Linked DNA regions of Homo sapiens: region 2 is linked to region 1. Evidence: promoter capture Hi-C in 16 types of primary human blood cells and fetal thymus (Javierre and others, 2016). All regions are on one chromosome and are shown on one strand. Each heading gives the region's core, a stretch centred on a gene start or on the middle of the fragment in contact. The rest is flanking DNA. Distances are from core to core; before and after follow the strand shown. Region 1 holds the start of OLIG1 (oligodendrocyte transcription factor 1). Region 2 has its middle 33 kb from the start of LINC01690.

Region 1 (6,700 bases), core at 3,880-6,379:
CTTTTCAGGCATGTCAGCTTTTACGCTGGGCTTAGTTAAAAATGACAGAATGGGAACTGCCTTAAGAATGATTTTCCGATGTCTCCATAAATAACGAGACTAGTTTGTGTGCAGGTTTTGAGGAATATCTTGCTACTCCAGTTTTGCACGTTAACTGGATCTTACTTGGAAACAGTATTTCTAACGTCTTTCCCCACACCTAAAAATCTGCTGGAGAAAAGTGAATTCATGTTTTTGAAAAACATGGCATTTTTCACCCCATTGCTTTGTGAGCCTACTTCAGTGAATGTGGTAATCTTCTTATTGAATATTTATTGTGTGTGCAGAAGAGAAAAGAGGCAGTGAAGAAGCAGGAAAATACCTTCTGAGGGAAATATACTTTCCTAGTCAATGCACTGCATACCCAGGGAGCAAAAGTGTCAATTGAATGACTCTTCCCAACCATCACCTTGCTCTTGGCAAGTTCATCAGGTATCCTTCTATGGCAGAAAAGAAAAGCCCCTTTTTTTCCTGGCTGGCTTCCTAAACACAACAGGAGGCTCCAGGGGGTCTAGTTAGCAGGCTGAGGCTCTCTTGTACCCAGCCTCACCTGCGTACCTAAGCATTCAGGAAAGACCAAACACCTTAAAGTGGAGTGCAAGATGGAAGCATTGTCGTTCATCTTCTAAACTTCAGTAAGTGGAAACATTTTCCATGATTGGAGAGGAGCCTCTTCCTCGAAGCAGCCACTTACCCTCTAAGCTGTATATTTCACAAAGTTAAATTTTTATGTCTAGTGTCATCAGTTTCCCTTAGAGGAGAACATCTGTAAGTAGACCATCACTGCGGGCTAGGCAAATCCCATCGTGTATTGATTCTGCCCTCTGTCTACTGATTGCTCACCTGGACTCCAATATATATAACAATATAATTTCTCAGGGCCTTGTGTATTTTCCCATTAGGTTCAGTTTACTCTAATTGCCAGGACCTCACTTTGGTGGTTGGCTGGATGCAGGGAACTTTTTTGGCAGTGAGCCGTGGGTTCCTTCTCATCTTGCTTCTGAGCTCTTAGAGTGCCTTTCTTGAGGAACCTTACTAAGACCCTCCCAGCTGTCCCAAACCCTTCAAAGGCTAGCTTACACTTGTTCCTTCTGAACAAAGCCCACTCCAGCTAAAATCAAGTATGGTGGACAATTCAGCTAGCTCCTTTGCTGGCGTGACATAGCACTGAACATTTCTAAAAGCAGCTCCATGCTCTAGAACACACATGTCTAAGCTTAAACTCTGCATGCAGAATACACTGCCCTGCCATAGACAGATGTTGAGCAGTCTGACTTTGCATTGTGGACACTGTATATAATTACCTTTTATCTGTTTCATCCTACAGGACTCTTCAATGCTTGCTGGTACTATTTTTTAGGATGTAAACTCCTTCTATAGAGCAAGTCTGCTAATCTTGCTTGGCACAACGGCCAAAAGCACGCTACGTGCAGGCAGATAAGTATTTTGATGGCACCCAAAACAGCCCCGTGTGTCCTTGTTAAATTTATTTATAGCCTTTGGCCCTTCTGAAAAGCATGATAGGCTGTGATTTTCTTAGTTAAATAAAAAAAAAATCATACACATATAGTGTTACTTTTCCTATAAGGCATGGGCGGCTTGTTCCCATTTACAGGTAGAGAAGGGCAGACCCATTTTCTGCCCTGTAGCTTTGGGCTCCTTTTAGAGATGATGTCTGGAATGACAGTGGCATCTAGGTGCTGGTGTTGGACAGTGGGAGAAATTGTTTGTTTCTAATCCCTTAGAAGTATTTTTGTTTCAAGGAGAACCTAATTTGCTTTTGATTTCATTGATTTTCACTTTTTTCCCCTACCCCTTGCCAAGATATAAGGTAAGCAAGGAAAGGCATTGAATAAACAGAAGGCCAGAGTTCAAATCTACTTTTTATAAAAGTGGTGACTTTGCTGGTGGCAGAGTCTAGGAAGCATGAGAAATCCTCTTTTGGAATGAGTTGGTGCACAGAGCACCTTCTCCCATGCCCTGTCCTGACTTCTCCTTAAGGAAATAGACACAGCATGGTAGCCGGGCAATGCCATCTCTCCAGCCACCTCCCACCTCCTTCCCCCACCTCCAAAGTGGTGCTCATTTTCTCTAAATGTGTATATGCCTCAGATAAACCAACATGGATAAAATTGAGTAAGTCATCTCTGGGTTTTCTTTAATTTTCCTCAGGTTAAAGGGGACACTACTTCTCTACTACTCCCCTACATTAAACAGTGGTTGGGTTTCATTAATAATTATGCAGTGTTTCATTATTGCAATGTGAGCAGGTCAGCCTTCCAAATTCTTTTTAAGAGCACCAAACAGACAGAAGAGCTTTCTTCACCTCTTAGGTGAAGACAATTCCAACCTGATTTAAATGATAAGGGGTAGGTGGGTGCAGCAGCGGGAAGCTCATGCTTGTGTGGTATTAAGCTTCTGTCCAAGGATATAGAAAAGGTGGATATCCTGGAAGGATGTTGAGCTACAATTTTATGATAAAGGTATTGCTTAACCCATTTTCCAGGGGATGAAGTTGTAGTTAAAAAAGACCTATGCCTGAAGCTTGGCAAAGAATGAATTCCTGGAATTGCCTCTCTCCCTTCTCTATCCCATTCTCTATCCCACCCACCCACTTACCTATAATCCTCATATTTCCCACGAATGCCTGAACTTGAACTACAGTTGCCTGTTCATTGGATTATTTTACAAATCAGGAAGTCACATTTTAAAACCTGGGACCCCGGTCATTTACCTACCTTCACCCCAAGGTTCTAAATCCACTAGGATACAAGGACTTTTTTATTACCAAACAAATCAGACAAAAAATGTAAAAAATCAGACTTTAAATGTTTTATTTTGTTGATTCTGTACACCGTCAGGAAACAAGGTTAGAAGTAAAATAAAGTGCCAGTTAAATTCGGCTACTACCAACAACCAAAACCTTAAACATAGAAAATCAAAGTAAACTGCGGAAAGGTCATAGCATAACCTTGGGTAAAGGAATTTGTTAACGTCTGTAACAAATCGAAACTGACTACGTATGTAGCTCTTCAACTGCAAGACGGCGAGAAGGAAGACCTGCGGGCCGCGCTGGTCAAGGGCCCGGCCCGCTGAGGAACAGCGGAAAGCGCCTTCCCGCCGTCGCCACCGCAGCTGGGATCCGCCGAGCAGCGGGCGGTTCAGGGCTCCCGGTACTCCTGCGTGTTAATGAGAACGTTCATTAGCGCTCTTGACAGGACGGCGACTGTGAGACGCCTGGTTACCTATTTTAGTAAATCGGGAACACTGGATGCAAGGCGGTTGGTTTTCGTTTTTAAGCAAGCTTAAATGTTGGTTACGCTACTTTTGGGGAAAGGGAAACGAAAGGTGAATCTCGAGTTCTAAGTTGCTTTCTAAGAAACCCCCAGGATTTAAGAGCGAAAACTCTCTGCGACAAAACACTGGATACGCGAGTCTTAAATACAGCTCTCCAAACAGCTGGTCTACAAAAGTGGACCCACGTCCCAACCCAGCGCACCCTGCGTTGTCCTCGCCCCTACCCACCGCACCCCGACGCCGACCACCTGTCCGCCGAGGGTCCGTCCGTCTGCCACGTCCCAGACCGTCTGCACCGCCTAACTGGTCTTTTTCTGCCTCTTGAGTTCCGGCAGCCTCCTTTGATAGGACCTGGCCGGCGGGAACAAGGGCGCCCGTGGCCTCTGGCGGAGGAGAAGGAAAAGAACCACCCCTCCGCCCCCGCCACTGCTCGAGCGCAGCCCCTAGTACTGGGAGCCGGCGTGCTCCGCTCCGGGGAGGTAGCGCTCGGGGATGGCCTCTCGCTGCACCCGGGGCGCGCCAACCACGGCAAGGCGCCCTAAGTTCTACATCGGCCCCGCGAAGCGCGCAACTCCAGGGACAAGGAGAGAGATGTGCTGGGTGAGAGCGAGCACTTTCTGCCTAAAGCCGCTGGAACCGACCCAGAACCCCAAACTGCCCCGAGGCGCCATCGAACATCCGCTCTGGTCACTTTAACGTCCCAGGGGTGGGGGCGGGGAAGGGGGTGCCCGACAGTCCCTTCCTCTGGACTGGAAGGTTCGAAATGCTTTCCTTGCTCGGCCTCGCTCTCCCAGACGCAGGGAGCAGGGGCGCGGAGAAGCTGAGCGAAGGGAGGCCGGGCCGAGGTCGCGCCCCAGGCCCAGGCCCGCCCTCACTTGGAGAATTGCGCCTGCACGGCGGCCAGGCCCAGGCTGGCCGGGACCAGGTGCGGGAACTTGCACACGGCGCAGGTGCAGAGGCCGGGGCCGCCTGCGCCGCCGCCGGGGAGAGCGAACTGGCCGCACGGCGGCTCGTCCAGCGCCAGCGACAGGTACTTGGCGGGGCGCAGCGCGTCGGGGGGTCCTACGGCGCCGGGCGCCAGCAGCACGGAGCCGGGCGCGGCGGCGAGCAGGGGCAGCCCGGCCAGCAGCAGGCGCGGCGCGGCGGGCCCGGCGCCCTCGCCCAGCGCGCGGCGCAGCTCCTGCAGCGAGCTGCCCAGCAGTAGGATGTAGTTGCGGGCGAGCAGCAGCGTGGCTATCTTGGAGAGCTTGCGGCCGGGCGCGCCCTGGCAGTGCGCCGCTGAGTAGGGCAGGATGACCTCGCGCAGGGCGTCCATGGCCAGGTTCAGGTCCTGCATGCGCTTCCGCTCGCGGCTGTTGATCTTGCGCCGCAGCTGCTGCTGCTGCTCCTCCTTGGCGTCCGGCCGGGCGCTGCCGCCCGGGTGCGCGCCTGACCCGGGCCCGGGGCCTGGAGGCTCGGCCGGCGCCTCCGGCTTCTCGCGCGCAGCCTTGGGGAGGAGGGGGGCCGTCGTGGAGGAGGAGGAAGTGGAGGAGGTGGAGGAGGTGGAGGAGGAGGAGGAGGAGGGCGGCTGCCTGTAGCCCACCAGCTCGTAGAGGGAGGCCCCGAGCTGCAAGTCTCCGGGCCGCTGTGGCCGCAGCATGGTCCCGGGGACCGCGTTCACGCGCGCCTGGGAAACCGCATAGTACATCTGGGAGGCGGTGGGGGCGGCCGAGGACGCCCTTCAGGAACGCCCTGGGGTGGGCCGGTCGGCAGGCCGCCCCTCCCCGCGGACCTGCGCGCGGGGAAACGATGGTGGGGCCCTGGCCCGCGCCCTACCCCTTTAAACCCGGCTTGGGAACCTGCGGGGCAGCGGGTGGCGGGGCGCAGCCAATGGAGGCGCGAGGCCGGGCGCAGCCGCGTGTTCATTGGCTGCTTGTGCCGGGGCCGCGCGGAGGTGCGGCTGGCACCGCTTTAGGAGGTTATTGTGAGCGCCTGTGCCAGCCGCGCGGGACAGGCCCCCTGAGCGGAGTAAGGGCGCCTTTTCAAGGCAAGCGGGGCTGTTGAAGGAGGACTGGTCGCACTGGTCAGGCTGCAACTCACGTGCCTTCCTCCAGCAACTGTCTACTCAAAAACAACCTCCCTCATATTTTTTTTTAACTGTGATCACATATTCATAACATAAAATTTACCGTCTTATGTTTAGAGTACTGTTCAGTAATGTTATATGCATTAGTGTGCACATTAAATTGATTTAAATTAAATTCACATTGTTGTGCAACCCATCTCCAGAACTCTTTTCAACTTGCAACCCTGAAGCTCCACCCATTAAACAACTCCCCACTCCCCCCGACCCAAGTTCCTGGAATTCACTCTTCTGTTCTGTCTCTATGAATTTGTTCTACTCTAGGTCCCTCATATAAGTAGAATCATACAGCACTTGTCTTTTAGTGACTGGCTTCTTTCACTTAGCATATTGTCGTCAAGGTTTATCCATGTTGTAGCATGTATCAAAGTTTCTTCCTTTTCAAGGCTGAATAATATTCCAGTATATGGATATACCACATTTGGTTTATCCATTCATTCGTTGATGGACATTTGGGGTGCTTTTGGTTGTTGCGAATTATGCTGCTATGAACATGAGTGTATCATGTTTTTTTTTTCTTAAAATACATAATTTCCTGCCAGGTTCAGGTCGCTAAATTTCTGGACTAAATGACAAGTAGCATTAGGATATTTCCTCCCTGCTGCTCCCAACCTCCTTCCCCATCCCTCTGATTGAAAGGTCTTTAGGGACAAAGGAGCCTTTGGGTCGGGTTTCTATCCTCCCCGAAAGGGATGGTCTATCAGCAACTTGACATTTGCTTAAGCAAAAGTCACTCAGAAATTGGCCTCTTATTAGAAACAAAACAAAACACCCACATAGTCCTATCGGTTGAGGGTGGGAATGAATCATTTTATTTGCCAAATAGAATAGCATTACTTGGTGTCTATGGACATTTTCTGCCCCCAGCACCAGTGCATGCTACTATAACTTGTCAATGTCCTGGGGAAGAGGGCATCTTGGTGGCTGTGCTTGCTGGTTTCAGGGCTGCTTTGTTCTGGTTTTCTTCCACCAATATTTGCCACATGGGTTCACTCTGATCTTTGCTTCTGACCCCCAGCTCTGCCTGTAGCATCCTGCCTATGCCTCAGGTTCAGCTCCAACCTTGCTTTCTTCTGGAAGCCTTGGTGATTTCTCCTCTTCCTCCTTTCATGACTCTTGGCAAACCATTGATAGGATTTCTTCATAGCCTATTGTGTTATGTAGATACCATCTCTGCATTTGGCTATGATTGTTTTACGGTAGGGACCACCTGCTCATTTCTCCATCTTCCTGAAGCCTAGC
Region 2 (6,164 bases), core at 2,549-5,048, 79 kb after region 1:
AGAATTTTCCACAGTCCGGAATTCATTGCGTCCCACAGTGTCATTTAACATGCTCTTCTGTCCTTTGTATTTCTATGATTTCTTACATCAGTGTCTTTCTCCAGACCTTTCTTTTTATATTTCTAGTTATTTTCTAAACTGTGCCATCCCTCTTTTCAAGCATTTTTTTTCTCCAGTCACCTTATTTCTGAGCTTTTTTTCTAATTCTGAGGTATGTTATTCTTTCATAGCTTCTATCATTTTCTTAATTTTCTTTAACTTGTTTCATAATATTTGAAATGTTTTGTGGGCATTCCTTTTGGACACGCTTTCATCGTTTTGTAGGAATTTTTTCTGCTCTTTCTTTTCATTTTTTCCTTCTTAACTTTTTATAAGTTTTTACCACAATGCTTTTCTGTTGTTTATTTTCTAAATGAAATGAATTTTCCTATACTTTTAGGAGTGAAGGGTATGCTGGGGCAACCTTTCCAGTTCAAAGGCTCTAGAGCTCCCTCTCCTGTTCCTTTCGCAAGGAAATAAAACAAAAATCTCCAAAGGTTTTGAGAGCTGCCTCTTCTGCTCTGCCCACCCCCATCCCATTTATCTGGATCTTTTTTCCTTGCCTGTATTGATCTGCCCAGATACTCATCAGTGCAAGGCTTTGTATTGGAAGAGACTCTGTTCACTTTGAGGGCATATGGAGCTCAAATCACCCCGACACCATCAGACCTTATTGTATCACAGTCCTCTTGCACTTAGCCATGCATTGGGTTTTCAGATAGCTCTCCTGGTTTTGGTTGCTGTACTCAGATGGTCTTGCTGTGCCCTCTGGTGAATACCTGCAGGTGATTGTGTGATTCTCAAGCTCTCAGTATCTTCAGAACCACAGTTTTTATCACGTGTCTTCTTCCGGCACTAATGCTGCCACCACACAGTTCTTGAACTGTAAATGCTTTGCCCAGACCTGTTAGTATTTGGTGTCTGGGAGGATTACCTCACTACCAGCTCTGTTGTGGATACTGTCCATGGCTCTTTTCGCTTTGCTATTCTAGTTGCTCTTTCTATTTTACAGGGAGATTTGGGAAGATTCTAAGACTACCTAGCCATTTCTTTTCCCCTTTTTAATTCTTCTTGGTACTCAGTGCTACAGTTTGAGTGTTTGCCTCCCTCCTTAAATTCATGTTGAAACCTAATCCCCACTGCCATAGTATTAGGCGATGGGGCCTTTAAGAGGTGGTTTATGTCATGAGGGCTCCACCTTCATGGATGGGATTAGTGTTCTTATAAAAGGGTTTGAGGGAGTCTGTTAGTTCCTTTTTGCCCTTCTACTGTCTGAGGACACAGGAAAAGGTGCCCTCTGTGGAGCAGAGATGGAGGCTTCACCAGACACAAAATCTGCTGGCACCTTGATCTTAAACTTTCCAGCCTCCAGAACTGTGAGACATAAATTTCTATTATTTATAAATTACCTAGTCTAAGATATTTTGTTAGAGCAGCCCGAATGGACTAAGACACCCAGTGATCAGTGCAGATTGGTTAGAAGTTTAACTCAATGAAATATTCCAACTTGGGAACAGGTTTTTCTCACAGGACCTGGGAGCCATGACCCTTCCTTCATTTGGTGCCCTTGAGAAGGTAGCTAAGGCAAGAAAAAGTAGACAGAAGGACTGCCAAGGGTCAGCTGTTGGGTGGGGCATGGCTCTTAGAACCTGCCTCAAGGCCAAGTTGTTGAGTCCTGCCTCTGACACCTCCCTTCTCCTTTGCTGGTCAGGCTCTCAAAAGGAGACAAATAATCACACAGGAAGAGAAAAGAAAACAGCGCTAAAAACAAAAGTTCCCTCTCTCACCTTATACAAAAATCAACTCAAGATGGATCTAAGACCTGAAACTAAAAATTCTGGAAGATAACATTGGAAAAACTCTTCTAGACATTGGCTTAGGCAAGGATTTCATGACCAAGAACCCCAAAGAAAATGCAATAAAACAAAAATAAATAGCTGGGATTTAATTAAACTACAGAGCTTTTGCACAGCAAAACAGTCAGCAGAGTAAACAGACAACCCACAGAGTGGGAGAAAATCTTCATAATCTATACGTCTGACAAAGGACTAATATCCAGAATCTACAACCAACTCAAACATGTTAGCAAGAAACAAACAAACAAATAATCCCATCAAAAAGTGGGCTAAAGACATGAATAGACAATTCTTAGAAGATATACAAATGGCCAACAAACATATGAAAAAATGCTCAACATCAGTAAGGATCAGGGAAATGCAAATCAAAACCACAAGGCAACACTACCTTACTCCTGCAAGAATGGCCATAATCAAAAAAACAAAAAATAATAGATGTTGGCGTGGATGCGGTGAAAAGGGAACACTTCTACACTGCTGGTGGGAATGTAAACTAGTACAACCACTATGGAAAACAGTGTGGAGTTTTCTTAAAGAACTAAAAGTAGATCTACCATTTGACCCAGTAAGCCCACTACTGGATATCTACCCAGAGAAAAAGAAGTCATTATACAAAAAAAGATACTTGCACACGCATGTTTATGGCTGCACAATTCACAATTGCAAAATCATGGAACCAACCCAAATGCCCACCAATCAATGACTGGATAAAGAAACTGTGACATATATGATGGAAAACTAGTTAGGCATAAAAAGAAATGAATTAATGGCCTTCGCAGCGACCTGGATGCGATTGGAGACTCTTATTCTAAGTAAAATAACTCAGGAATGGAAAAACCAAACATCATATGTTCTCACTCATAAGTGGGAACTAAGCTGTGAGGATGCAAAGGCATAAGAATGACACAATGGACTTTGGGGACTCAAGGGGAAAGGGTGGGAAGGGGGTGAGGGATAAAATATCACAAATTGGGTACAGTGTACACTGCTCGGGTGACAGGTGCACCAAAATCTCACAAATCACCGCTAAAGAACTTACTCATGTAACCAAACACCACCTGTTCCCCAATAACCTATGGAAATAGAAAAATTAATTTAAAAAATTCTAGGAAACTGCCTGGGAATTCCCCAGCGTAAAACACCCCCAGATTTGCATTTGACTCCAGCTTTGTATTATTGGTGGGGGAGCCACACAGCTTCCCCCTCACCCCCCAGCCCCTCCCGGGCCTCTGCCTGTGCTCCATTTTCTTGTGCTTCCTGGGTGGTGCAGGGTTGTGATGTCTTGAATACCAAGAGTGAGGCTGAACATATGTGAACCTTTCCTAATCCTGCTAATCTTTCTTCAAAAACCTTTCTCAAAGTGTAGGCAACATCCAGATTGAAAAAAGAGAGTGTGAGCGAGCCTGAGCATTTTAATGACAAATAATCTTTGTCCAAGGGGGACGGGCGGCTACCTCAGCTGGAGATGGAGCTGATGAACTGCAGCAGGTAGAAATAACTGCCGTATTACCTCATGTAATCTGCACCACTCAGGGGCAGACGAGGTCTGAATGCAGGAAGAAATCGACTTGGCTTTTAAACTGGAGACTCTGCATCTGTGACAGCTATTAGGCAGTAATTAGTTGTGACACAGAATTACCAGCCACACAATGGTAATGGGAGCCTTACGAGGTCTTTGAAGCTGATTAGAGAAACTGAATGGATGCTACTTGCGATTAAAAAAGTCTGTCTGGATGTGAGCATGAGTTAAGACTTCACCCTGTCCCCTTCCTCTCTCCTCACCATCCTACAAACAGTGAACTGCTCCAAAGAGTGGCTCCCCACAGCTGGGCAAATATCTCCCCAGGGCTTGTGTTTCTCAAAATGGATCAGGTACCAATGGGTCCTTGGATTTTACCCAACGGAAGAGAGGGGGCTTTGTAGATTCTTTTTGACAGAGTAGAATCATAGAGGTTTCCTAGAGCTACAAAAACAAAAATAAACAAACAAAAAATAACAACCACCACAACAACAAAAAACACACAAAGGAAAGAGATTTGAGGACCAACTGAGACAACCCATCACTCAGGGCTCTAAAACTGAAAATCCAAGTCGTGCCCTGAGAGATATAAGCTCATAGAATAGCTTTGTCATGAGGCAGACATGCAGGGCTGGGGGATTGAAATGCTAGTTTGGGAGAGATGGGTTTGCCGGATACGCAGCCTCTTTCCCTGCAGGCTCCAAGCCCTGGACAAGTGAACCCCAGAGAGCAAAGATGTGGTGCTGTGCCCTGCCCCCTGGGGCATCCTCTAGGTGAGAGCTGACAGCGGAGCAGCTCCTTTGGAAATTTGCAGGTCAAGGTGCTGGAGGAGTCTCCCGGTGAATCGTGTAATGTGTTCATGGCTGTCTTGGACAAGATCTGCCTTCTGCCCCACTGGGTGAGCAATGAAGGATTGCAGGGAAATAGTTAGGGATTTTGAACTTACTGCTTGCTAGAGAAGCCGGACTGGTAAGGAAATTCACTAATTAAACTTTGTGGGTGGTTTTATTTCTCCCATATTTTAAACAAGGCTGCTGTTTTGAATAGCTGTGGATTCATCTTAGGTTTGACATTTGTCATACTGTCTAGCTAAATATATATACAGATAGGTAGCTGGATATAGACATATATCATACGATATCATATGCATGAAACTTCTACCTGTATGTTTATAGATATAGATACATAGATGGGTTGCCTTAAGTAATTAAATATGTTTCTATAATATTGAGCTAACTTCTCCCCATTGTTTAAGCAAAATGGGCCCCCTTTGCACAAGTGATAGACTTTTTTTTTTTTCTTTGAGACAGGGTCTTGCTCTGTTACCCAGGCTGGAGTGCAGTGGCACAACCTTGGCTCACTGCAGCCTTGACCTCCTGGGCTCAAGTGGTCCTCCCACCTCAGTCTCCCGAGTAGCTGGGACTACAGGTGCACATCACCATGCCCGGTGAATTTTTGTATTTTTTGTAGAGACAGGGTCTTGCCATGTTGCCCAGGCTGGTCTCGAATGCCTGGGCTCAAGTGAGCCATCTGCCTCGGCTTCCCAAAGTGCTGGGATTACAGGCGTAAACCACAGTGCCCAGTCAGTATACTTTTTTTCACTTGATAATTTTACTCTTTTCACTTAATGTTACCCCATCCCCATTTTGCAAATGACCTGCTATGTCACCTTAGGAAGATCACACCCCTGGGGGCTTCTGTCTCCTTTTCCTTAAGCAGAGATGATTAACCAGTCCACCTGGAAACATTTTCCCCTGCCAGTTTCAGAGGAAGTGTGGCCCTGCTGACACCTCAATCTCAGACTCTGGCCTCCAGAACTGTGGGATAAGATTTCTGTTGTTCTAAGCCACCTAGTTTCTGGTACTTCATTATTGCAGCCATAGGGGACTAACACAGTATGTATCCCATTCCTAGTTATTGGAAGGATTTAAGATGGTTTGAAACAATACAGCAAGTACAAGACAATTAAAGTTAGAGATAAAGAAATTCAAGGTGAAAGTGAATGGCAAGTCCCAGGATTATAGCATTGTAATTTCATGCACTGAGGGCCCTTCAACTCCATTTCATTCTGATATATAGAAGTGATAGGACAGGAAAAAAACTTAAGGAATGGTACTTAAAATGCATAGTTGATATCAAAATTGGGTAAGTAGCATGTCCTTGGGCAAGAAACAAGAGAAACTCAACATGGAGGTGGGGCTGAATCCACAGGTGTGCTGGCCTCTGGGTCTGGATACAGGAAAGGCAGTTACAACCTCAGCTCCTGTGGGATAAGAAGGACTATAGGTGTCCCAGGTGTGGCAGGTGACCAAGGACAGGCTTGAAACTAAAGACTGAGACTTTAGAATGCTGGAGACTGAAGAATGCTACCAACACCATCTGGGACTATAGCCGCTAGGTAACTGTGCACCCGGGGAGGTGGGAGGAGGCAGAGGGGCCTCATAGCTGTGCCCTAAGCCAAGCTACCAGCAGGAACCTCCATATCCTCATAGCCCCAGCTGCCATGTAACCTCCGGTTCTGGTCTGGGGAACATGAGGAGGTGTGTGTGATGGCAGCAGGGGGTATCACAGAAAGCAAGGAAAGGGGACTCCCCTTTAAGATGACTCTGCAAACTAAGATTTCAAAAGGAATGAAGGAAGCAAATGTTAAGAAAGAACAGCAAGTTTGAAAAAAATCAATCACCTGGAGAATGAATTCCCAGAGAAATGAAAACAACAGCAAAATAGGAAAATGACTTTCTAATAAATGT

What was found. The method cuts DNA at HindIII sites, captures the fragments that hold promoters and counts their contacts. A CHiCAGO score of 5 or more calls a contact.
Region 2: a contact is called between a fragment that was not itself captured here and the fragment with the promoter of OLIG1 in region 1, in 5 of 17 cell types (M1 macrophages, neutrophils, M2 macrophages and 2 more). The highest score is 6.0, in M1 macrophages.

What each region holds. Positions count from the first base shown.
Region 1 is chr21:33,068,570-33,075,269 of GRCh38, reverse strand. OLIG1 (oligodendrocyte transcription factor 1) reads right to left here and starts at 5,129. Exons shown (of 1, transcript NM_138983.3): 1 at 2,857-5,129. The coding sequence starts at 5,023. The coding sequence ends at 4,208. The HindIII fragment of the contact is 4,947 bases long and covers 3,346-6,700 here.
Region 2 is chr21:32,988,850-32,995,013 of GRCh38, reverse strand. No RefSeq gene overlaps it. Among named protein-coding and RNA genes, the nearest start is that of LINC01690, 33 kb to the right of the region's middle. The HindIII fragment of the contact is 8,548 bases long and covers 1-6,164 here.